Regions from separate parts of the Homo sapiens genome. Here region 2 is linked to region 1. The links are contacts of gene promoters, found by promoter capture Hi-C in blood cells and fetal thymus (Javierre and others, 2016). All regions are on one chromosome and are shown on one strand. The core of a region is centred on a gene start or on the middle of the fragment in contact, and the rest is flanking DNA. Distances in the headings are between cores, read along the strand shown.

Region 1 (4,864 bases), core at 1,426-3,925:
AAGAAGAGTATACAGTAGTTTTTTGTTCTCTTCCAGCTTTCAGTAGATTTGAAATTATTTCAAAAAAAGTTGAAAAATGCAAAAGACTTCATTTGAAAAGTTTGGCTCAGAGAAGTGAGACCGGAGTTGTGAAATATTCTCTGAAAACTATGCAGCCTAGTCATCCCTTTAAATAGATGAAGCTTTATTTTTGGACTCAGCAGATCCCTTTGTCCATATTATCCTGGCCTCCAGCACATCACTGCTTACTCAGGTAGTCTCGGGGTTTACCTGAGGAGGATTCAAGGATACTGGGATGAAATTTATTTGTAAAAAATACTGTTTATCACACTGTCCAATAAATCATTAGTGCCCACTATGTATAGCTCAATGCTTTTACAATTTAGTACTACAAAAAAAGGCTTTTTTCACCCAAGAAACAGGTATTTCTCTTGATTTCTGATGACAGGAATTACATAACCATGACTCTTATGATGTTGTCAGACAGGAAGACTAAGGTCGAATGTGCGGACCAACTTCAGCAGCCACTGGGCTAAAGCTCAGGGTGACTTCCTAGGTCCGTTCTTTTCCTTTGGCTTGGTTATTTTTATCTGAATTTTACCACTTTTTGTCCTATTTTGAGGCAAAACTAAATCCAAAAATCATTTTGGCTCTCTGGGAAATGTAAGAACTACTGATGTGCTCAAGTTGGTAAATTCGGGCTCTTTCAGGCTCCTTCTGGCCATACACTCGATATGGGGAATTCATATGGAGATTCCCTGCCACCGTTTCTAAGTCTTGACACCAACTTCTGAAGCATGACTTTGGGCCACAAAACAATGATCTATAGAAGTTGAATCTCCAAGTTAGCCAAGTTACATTAATCACTTACCTCAAAAGGTCAAAACTGAGCACGACATTTTAGGTATTTATAGCAAGAAAGATGAGTAAGGTCCACGACTTACTAATCTTAAAGGTATGACAACTCTGTGAGCATTATTTTATTGCTACTACCAAGAATTCCTTTATATTTTAATAGTTCTGCAAGACTAAAACTACAAAGCAAAAATCTCACATGCAAATGTGGAAATGAAAAATACTTTCACCCACTGGTTTCACTCTTGACACAACCAGACCTGAGGGGACCTGAGGTGAACCCATTGGGGGAGGGCATGAGTTAAGGGTGTCAATAATTGAGGGAGGGGAGCTGTAGTATCGACAACGCTGATTTTGGCTTGTGTTTTAGGTAGAAAAGCAAGTTCTAAAATAAAGAGCTACAAAGCTTGATATGACGTGTATTTCAAAAAGAATTCACACAAGCAAAGAGGATTTTTCCAGTCCACAACCACTTCTGGTCGCTTCAGCAGCAAAAGGAAGGAACTAACAGTAGGAGATGGACTGTAGCAAACTAAAGAAGGCACCCCCACAAGGTTGTCAAGGAAACCAAACCAAGTGCATTTTTCTATAGAAAAGAATCAAGGGTAAGGTGAACATGCCATGTTACATTTTGTGGCAAAAATGATTAAAATCCCTTCTTGAAAAAAATCGCTAAGAGACCAAATTTACTTCCAGGCTATTTTACTAAGCACTACACCCATAACGCAGGCAGGCAAGCTTGTATTCCCAAACTACCAGCTACATGGATTCAGCAATCACCTTACTACAACCAGCTAACTTGGGTCACCGATACTTCAGGGCATTTCCTAAGATCTCTTTTTAATAGCTTAACGGCAACGAAAGAAGTGGTCACACTCAAAAAGTTAAAAACAAAAACCTCTACCACAATTCCACAAACATGCTCTCCCAAATTTAGGGTATTTTTCAAAATGGAGTCTTTTTAAACACATCATTTTTCAGCGAAAAGGCAAATCTATGCAAACCAAAGGGACAGCTTGGCCTGAGTGTGCCATTTCATACTGGAAAAGCGCAGGGAGGGCAGTAAAAATGGTATCAAGTTGGGAGATCGATGCTATTCTCTCCACAAGTAGGTGGTAAAGAATCCTCAGCCAGGAGGAATGACACGCACACGCGGGGACAGAACGAGGGCCAGTGCTGAGAACGCTGGAAGGCAGGGACACCGTTCACTAGGAGATGAGTGACGTTAAAGGATCTGCAGTGATGATCTGTGCCTCACGCTGGCGAATATTCCTAGGAGGGGAGATCCCGCGCTCCCGGTGTCCCTCAGGGTGTCCACCCCGGCGACGGCCGGAGCCGGGCTGCGGGTCCAGGGGCCCGGCCACGTGGGCGGGGGAGGCGAGGAGCGCCGGGCTCGCTCAGAGTGGGCACCGCGTCCCTACCCTCCGTGCTTTTCCTCTTGTGGCCCTTCCCGGCAGGGAAGAGGGGGTTTTACGACGTCAAGGCAAGGCTTGGAGGGAAGCGGCGGCCGGCGCCCCACCTGCCCAGGTGATCGCGGGGCTCAAGCCCGGGGCGACGGACGCAGCTCGACCTCCAGGCGAGGTGGACGCCAGGGGCCGGGAGCGGGGCCGCGGAGGAGCGGGGGTGGGCGCCGAGCTGCTCTTACCCGGTGCCACAGTCCACCACGCAGGGAGGCAGGGAGCCTGCCATGCTCGGGACGCGCGGCGCTCGGCCCCGCCGGCAGCCCGAGAGCGCCCCGTCGCCGTCCGCTCCGCCGCCCGCTAGCCCCGCGCGCAGCGTCTCCCGCGAGCCGCCGCAGCGCCGCTGCCGGGAGCCCGGATGCTCGGCGGCCGACACGTGACGTCACTCCCCGGTCGGCCAATCAGAACGCGCGCACGCCCCGCCTCCCCCAACACCCCCACCCCCACTCCGGCGCGCCATCTTTAGTGCTGGCAGCGAGGCTTCTTGGCCCCATACGTCCAACCTTGCTGCTGGAGAGATTGGGGTTTATTTTTAACTGACTTACATGAACGTGACCCCATTTCCGAGGCCTGGCGCCTTTCTCCTCCTGTAAGTCTTCGCTCGAATGTCACCTTGCGAGGGAAGTTGTTCCTGATCACCCTGACTATGTCCCCTACCGGTACTGTATCCTCTGTCTCAACAATCTGTTGGTTTCATTCCTAACCCTTAAAGCAAAGTGTTTATATTTTTATATTTATGTATTTGTTGTCTGCCTCCCCTACTGGACTATCAAATCTTCTAGGATAGGGCTTGAGTCTGTCTTAATCACTATTGATGAGCAGCAGGTGCTTAGCACAGTATTTGGTGTACCTGTGGAAGTGCCCAAATGTTTGTTGAATGACTGAGTAACCTTCCCCATATAATAAAAAAAAAAAAAAAAATTAGTTGGAATTGGCCGGGCGCGGTGGCTCACGCCTGTAATCCCAGCACTTTGGGAGGCTGAGGGTGGATCACAAGGTCAGGAGTTCCAGACCAGCCTGGCCAACATGGTGAAACCCCTTCTCTACTGAAAATACAAAAATTAGCCGGGCGTGGTGGCGGGTGCCTGTAATCCCAGCTGCTCCGGAGGCTGAGGCAGGAGAATCGCTTGAACCTGGGAGGCGGAGGTTGCAGTGAGCCAAGATCGCGCCATTGCACTCCAGCCTGGACAACAGGGCGAGAGTCTGTCTCAAAAAAACAACAAAAAAAATTAGTTGGAATTATTATACCTAACACGGCCTAAATTTTTCTAAGAAGAAAAATCTGCAAAACAAATGCTTGGCCAGCCTTAAGGAATGAATGGCCTTAGACTGAGTAAACCACACCAAGATCACTCCTGGAAAATGTTTTCAAGTGTCGAAGATGGGATGATCGCCCAAAAGTTCTTACTGAAACCAAAGAAGGCAAACACCACCTACTATATTATAAAGGTACTGAGAGTCCCACTTGCCACTTGCTTCCTGCTTCTTGCCCGATCGTAAATTCTTGATACTAATTTTTTAGGAGCTTTCTGGAAACATGTATTTTTTTGTTTTGTTTTGTTTTTTGAGATGAGTCTCACTCTGTCGCCCAGGCTGGAGTGCAGTGGCGCAATCTCGGCTCACTGCAACTCCGCCTCCCAGGTTCAAGCAATTCTCCTGCCTCAGCCTCCCAAGTAGCTGGGATTACAGGCACCCACTACCATGCCCGGTTAATTTTTTGTATTTTTAGTAGAGACAGGGTTTCATCATGCTGGCCAGACTGGTCTTGAGCTCCTGACCTCGTGATCTGCCTGCCTCAGCCTCCCAAAGTACTGGGATTACAGGCATGAGCCACCACGCCCAGCCAAGACATGTTGTTTTTACAGGTACTTAAAACATTGTGTTTTTTACCTAGAAGTAATAGATACGTTGACCACTCCTAGGTAACCCATCATCATTTCTTTTTTTTAACTCATAAGTACCCATTAAGGCCCAGACCTAGAGAATGTTCAGGAGAACTGAAGAGAGAAGCAAATGGGAGGAAAATAAAAAGGAGTAAGTGTGGAGGAATCCCAGTTTAGAAGCCCAAGGCTGGGGTTAAAGATTGGCTGGCTTGCTTTGTGTTTTGCCAAAGCCCTGCCTTGGTCCCTTTTCTTTTTCTTTTCTTATTGCTTGTTTCTTAGAGACAGGGTCTCACTATGTTGCCCAGGCTGGAGGGCAGCGACTATTCACAGGCATGGTCCCACTACTGATCTGCATGAGAGTTCTGATCGGCTCCATCTCTGACCTGGGCCAGTTCACCCTTCCTTAGGCAACCTGGTGGTTCCCCGCTCCTGGGAGGGTGCCATATTGATGCCAAACTTAGTGCAGATCCATCATTCTGGGTGGCACAGAACTCCTGGGCTCAAGGGACCCTTCCACCTCAGCCTCCCGAGTATCTGGGACTACAGGCAAGTACAACTGCTCCCAGCCCAGCTCCCATTTTTTTCACGGCCCTAGCCTAAACATAGATTAATTCTAAATTACAGACTGTTGACACTGCCATGTCTTTTATTTTATTCACTTAACAA
Region 2 (4,864 bases), core at 847-3,346, 1.3 Mb after region 1:
TTTTCCTCAGTGGTATATATCTGGTAGCATAATAATTGGCAATAGGGTTACCTATAAGTATTTGAAAGGGTATTTTTATGAACTAGTTTTACTTTTTCTGCCTTGTCTTTGTCATAATAATAATAATTGCAGTTTAATTTTTTCTTTTTTTTAAAATCTCCCAGCATCTATTTTTAAAATTGGGGAAGGGGTGTGAGAAAGAACAACATGATGTCAACCCTGCTTAGCTCACAGGAACAAGCGAGATAATTCATGTGAGAATGTTCCGTAAACTCTAACGGTGTCTCACTTTTTAGGTTCTGTACAATAATTAAGATGTGTATGTTCTGCATCACACACTCTCATCTGACTCTATATGACGGACATGTGGGGATTGGTATTCCAATTAGAATCGTAAACATCTTTTCAAAACACTTCCTTAGTGACACTATATATATGTGTGTGTGTAATATACATAGACACACACAATACAACACATATCACCCCTCCCTCTCGAAAAAGCAACAACCACCAATCCTGCCATAGGGGGAGCTACACATTTCTTACTAGAGTGGGTGCATACGATTGTTAAGCATATGATTGGCATTGTGTGTCATGTAAGGAACACATAGAAACCTTTATGCGGTTCATTGTTTTTCCAGCCTTTTAACAGTGGTGATTCAGGTTTCATTCCATTTATAAGCCAGGTGAGTCTGCAGTCTTTTTTCTGCCGTTTACAAACCAAGTCTGCTTTACTGGTGTCTGTTCTATTGTTAGTCCCCAACGAGGCACTCTCCTGGTATTCCTGTGCTTGCCCTGTGACTGTCTTGAGCCTGCAGAATGCAGCAGAGATGGTGATGTGCCAGTTCCAGGCTTTAAGCCCTAAGAAGTTGGCAGCTTCTGCTTTTGTGTTCTTGGGAGCCTCAAGTGATGTGCAGTAGATGTTAGGAGGAGACACAGAGAAAGGGAGAATGCCCCGCCTTCCCAGCTGTGTAGCACCACCAGCCCACCAGATAAAGGCCCCCCAAAGAGTAAACTAAAAGTGAGCCCAGCGTTGACTGTAGAACCATGAGCACATGAAATGGGTGGTGTCAGTCACTCAGCTGTGGGTAAATGAAACAGTAATTTTCTGCTTTAGGGGTATATGTATGTTTGTTATTTTGCTTGTGTTATTTTGAGGCTTTAGTTGAAATAGTTACTGTATGTCATCTTTCAGGTTAATTTATTAGATATAATTCCGAAAATACTTTTTTTATCCTAAGCGGATTATTTCTGCCTAAGAGCAGTTACTAATAGTATTACTAATATTAATAATAATGAGATTTGCTGAGCACTTGCTACATGCCAGATGTTTGGTATACATTTTCATTTAATCCTCACAAAGCACGTTATAGGATAGGTACCATTATGATGTCCATTTACAGATAAGGAAAAGGACTCAGGAAAACTGCCCAAAGTCACATAGCTAATAACCACCATCTCATACTGTTTAGTAAAAAGTAGTAAATGGGCTGGGCATGGTGACACACACCTGTAATCCCAGTGCTTTGAGAGACCAAGGTGAGAGGATCATTTGAGACCAGCAGTTTGAATACAGTGAGCTATGATCCTGCCATTGTACTCCAGCCTGGGCAACAGATAGAGACCCTGTCTCAAAAAAAAAAAAAAAAGTAAATGCATTATCTTTTAAAAAAAATCTTTTTTTCCTAAATCAAGTTTATTGAGGTGTAATTTACATATAATAAAGTATCCATTTTAAGTGTAGAGTTGGATGAGTTTTGACAGATTTATGCACCTATGTAACCTCTGCCTTTATCAAAATATGAAACATTCCGTCATCCCCACAAGTTCTCTCATGTCCCTCACGCCCTACCCCAGCTCCCCGGGAAGCACTGATCTGCTCTCCATCACTCTGGGTTAGTTTTTCTTACCCTAAAATTTCACATACATCGAATCATACAATATATACTCATTTTTGTATGTCAGTTAGCATAATGTTTTTGAGATTCATCCATGGTGTTGCATGTATAATTTCTTTTTATTGCAAAGTGGTATTCTGTTGAATGGATATACCTTAATTTGTTTATCTGATCACCCATTGGTGGATATTTGGGTTATCCCAGTATTTAACTATTAAGAATAAAGCTATTATGAGCATTTTGAGTAAATGTCTTCGTGGACACACAGTCATTTCTCTTTGGTAAATACCTAGGTGTGATATTGCTGAGTCACATATATGTTAAGTGTATACTTTAGGAGAAACTACCAAACTGTTTTTCCAAAACATTTTGACCATTTTATGCCTCCACTAGCAGCACATGAGAGCTTTGGTTGCTGCCTGCCCATCCTCCCTGATACTTGGTATTGGCGGCCTTTCTAACTTTCTAGCTATTCTCAGATGGTAGGTTGTGGTTTTATTTGAAATTTCCCACTAAGAATGGTGGACATCTTTTCATATACCTACTGGAAATTTGGATATCTTGGTTTGTGAAGTGTCTGTTCAAGTCTTTTGCCTAGATTATCAGATTCTTCTTACTGAATTATATATTCTGAATAAAAGTCCTTTTTCAGATGTGTATTTAATGAATATTTTCTCCTAGTGTGACTTTTTTGTTGTTCCTGTGTTTCAGAGAACAGAAGAAGTTTGTAAGTTTGATGAAACTCGGTTCACTTTTTCGTTTTTTTTTTTGTTTTGTTTATTTTGTATCGTGTCAGGAATCTGTCTACCTGAAGATCATAAAGTTGTTTTTTTTTTTGTTTTCACTTTTAAGCTCTGTTGGACTTGAGAAAGTTTTGTTTTTTGGGTTTTTTTTTTCATATTCTAGAAGTTTTGTAGTTTTAGCTTTTATGTTTAGGTCTCTGATCCATTTCTAGTTAGTTTTTATGTATGAGGTAAGGGTGAAGATTTTTTAAAAAACTTGAGGTCCCACACCTGTAAAAAGAAAGGAAAAATAACATTTAAAACTTTGAGAAAATTTCTTTTTTTTTTTTGAGGTAGCATTCAACAGGTTTTGGCAAGTCTGCAGTCATCTACATCCAGAATCAGGCTGTAGAACAATCCATCAACCCAAAAAGCGCCCTGTGCCTGTTTCTAGTTAGCCCCCTACCCCTTTGTGGTTTTTATCCTATAGTTTTGTCTTTATCAGGATGCCCAATAAATGGAACCATATATTATGCAGCTTTTTGCGTCTGGCTACTTAGCACAACACATTTGAGATTTATTCATGTGTACATATACCAGTATTTAATTCCTTTGTATTGCTTAATAGGACAGTTGACCCTTAATCAACACAGTTGGAACTGTGTGGGCCCACTTATAGGCAGGAATTTTTTTTTCCTCAACCAAATGCAAATGGAAAATACAGTATTCCTTGGATGCAAAGCCCACATGTATGGAGGGCCGACTTTTCATATATGCAGATTCTGCAGGGTGAAAAGCAGGGCTTCATCACACTCGGATTTTGCTATCCTCAAGCATCCTGGAACCAGTCCCCCTTGTATACCAAGGGATGCCTGTATCCCTTTGGGTGGATTTTTTCCCCCCACTTAAATTGCATGTTTTATTTCCCCCAATCCCAGCAATAGCACAGAAGCCCCATCATATCCAACCCAAACTGGTTTCGAGTAGGTTAAGGTTATAGGGACACTTGTCAGAACGTTGATACAAAGGGCTCCCAAACGCTGGGCACAAATGTGTCAGCAAACAGATGGAAGTAAACAGTGCACTGGCCCAAATGCTTCATGAGTCAGTTTGATTTTGCAATGCAGTTTGCATCCTTGAAACTGCCAGTCTGGAGGGAGACAGGGTAGCTTGAGGGAGTGAAGTTGAAATTGCCTCCTATTAGCTCACCCTTTCAACATTAAACAGACCAAGAGAGAAATGGTTCCAACATTTCACCACATCTATTTCTTATGCAGTCTAAGCTGGGAATGCCATGTAAATGGATCACTGCGAAATGCAGCAATTTAATTTTTCTCCAATCAAAATAAGAAAAAAACCAGTATGATCTCACTTCTATTAACTTTTGAAGGTTTACAGCAGTTAAAATATTTTTACTTCTGTATATGAAGGCTTAAAAAAATTTTTTTTTTTTTCATAAAATACAAGAGCAACGAATTTCACCATCGAGTAAAAGTAAAAACTGGGATTCTTGTTTAAATTAGTCCAAAGTGGCATTTAGGAACTTAGTTGTAGGCTGCTGCGCTGACACCATGACAAAACAAAGTGTGGGGTTGGGTCTGGTTTTGTTTCAGTTATCTTTTCAATAACCAGTACTCATGGATAAAGTTCTGGAAGTGTTTCAGTTGTAAGGCAGGGATCTGTTAGAATTCCACCATGGGTATGCTTCTTGGGTTGGATGCTGGAGGGTGAGGCACGTTTTGCCAGACTCATGTCTAGTCATCAAGGTCAAAAAATTCATTGTCTCCTCCTTGGTATTCCATTCCCTGGAAATCTACTCGGTACTGCAGGATACCTCCAATTCCACCAAATCCTTTCACAAACCGAGACCCGTCTTGCATTTTATCTGTGATCATTTCCAACATAGCTCCAAATTTTTTATAGTTGTTAGCAAACCATTCCAACAGGGGCATGCTCTCGATAAGCTCATGTTCCTGTCCGGTCTCTTTGTCTGTGAAATGAGATTTATCCTTTTCTTGCTTTGGAGTTAGAGAATTTTCTCCTTTTCTGTGCCTTGGCAATAAAGAACATATCTCATTATATCCAGATTTTCATAGACCATTAGAATTTCTACAGCTCCCTTTTCCAAAGTCTTTAGTGTATCTTCAACGCCAAAACAGTACTTTCGCGTGTCCTGGGTGATTTCATCAAAGTATCGTTCTATTGATTTCTTTTCTTGAATGAATTTCACTTCGGAGAGGACTT

What was found. The method cuts DNA at HindIII sites, captures the fragments that hold promoters and counts their contacts. A CHiCAGO score of 5 or more calls a contact.
Region 2: a fragment that was not itself captured here is called in contact with the fragment with the promoter of ACTR3B in region 1 in 1 of 17 cell types (neutrophils); the score reaches 5.1 in neutrophils.

The regions. Positions count from the first base shown.
Region 1 is chr7:152,757,563-152,762,426 of GRCh38, reverse strand. ACTR3B (actin related protein 3B) reads right to left here and starts at 2,675. Exons shown (of 12, transcript NM_020445.6): 1 at 2,501-2,675. The coding sequence starts at 2,544. It also overlaps the pseudogene RN7SL845P. RefSeq lists enhancers at 1,824-1,873, 2,874-3,033 and silencers at 2,049-2,343, 2,104-2,623. The HindIII fragment of the contact is 7,028 bases long and covers 1,596-4,864 here.
Region 2 is chr7:151,502,974-151,507,837 of GRCh38, reverse strand. All of the region lies in intron 1 of RHEB (Ras homolog, mTORC1 binding), which reads left to right. It also overlaps the pseudogene ETF1P2. Among named protein-coding and RNA genes, the nearest start is that of RHEB, 14 kb to the left of the region's middle. The HindIII fragment of the contact is 8,388 bases long and covers 1-4,864 here.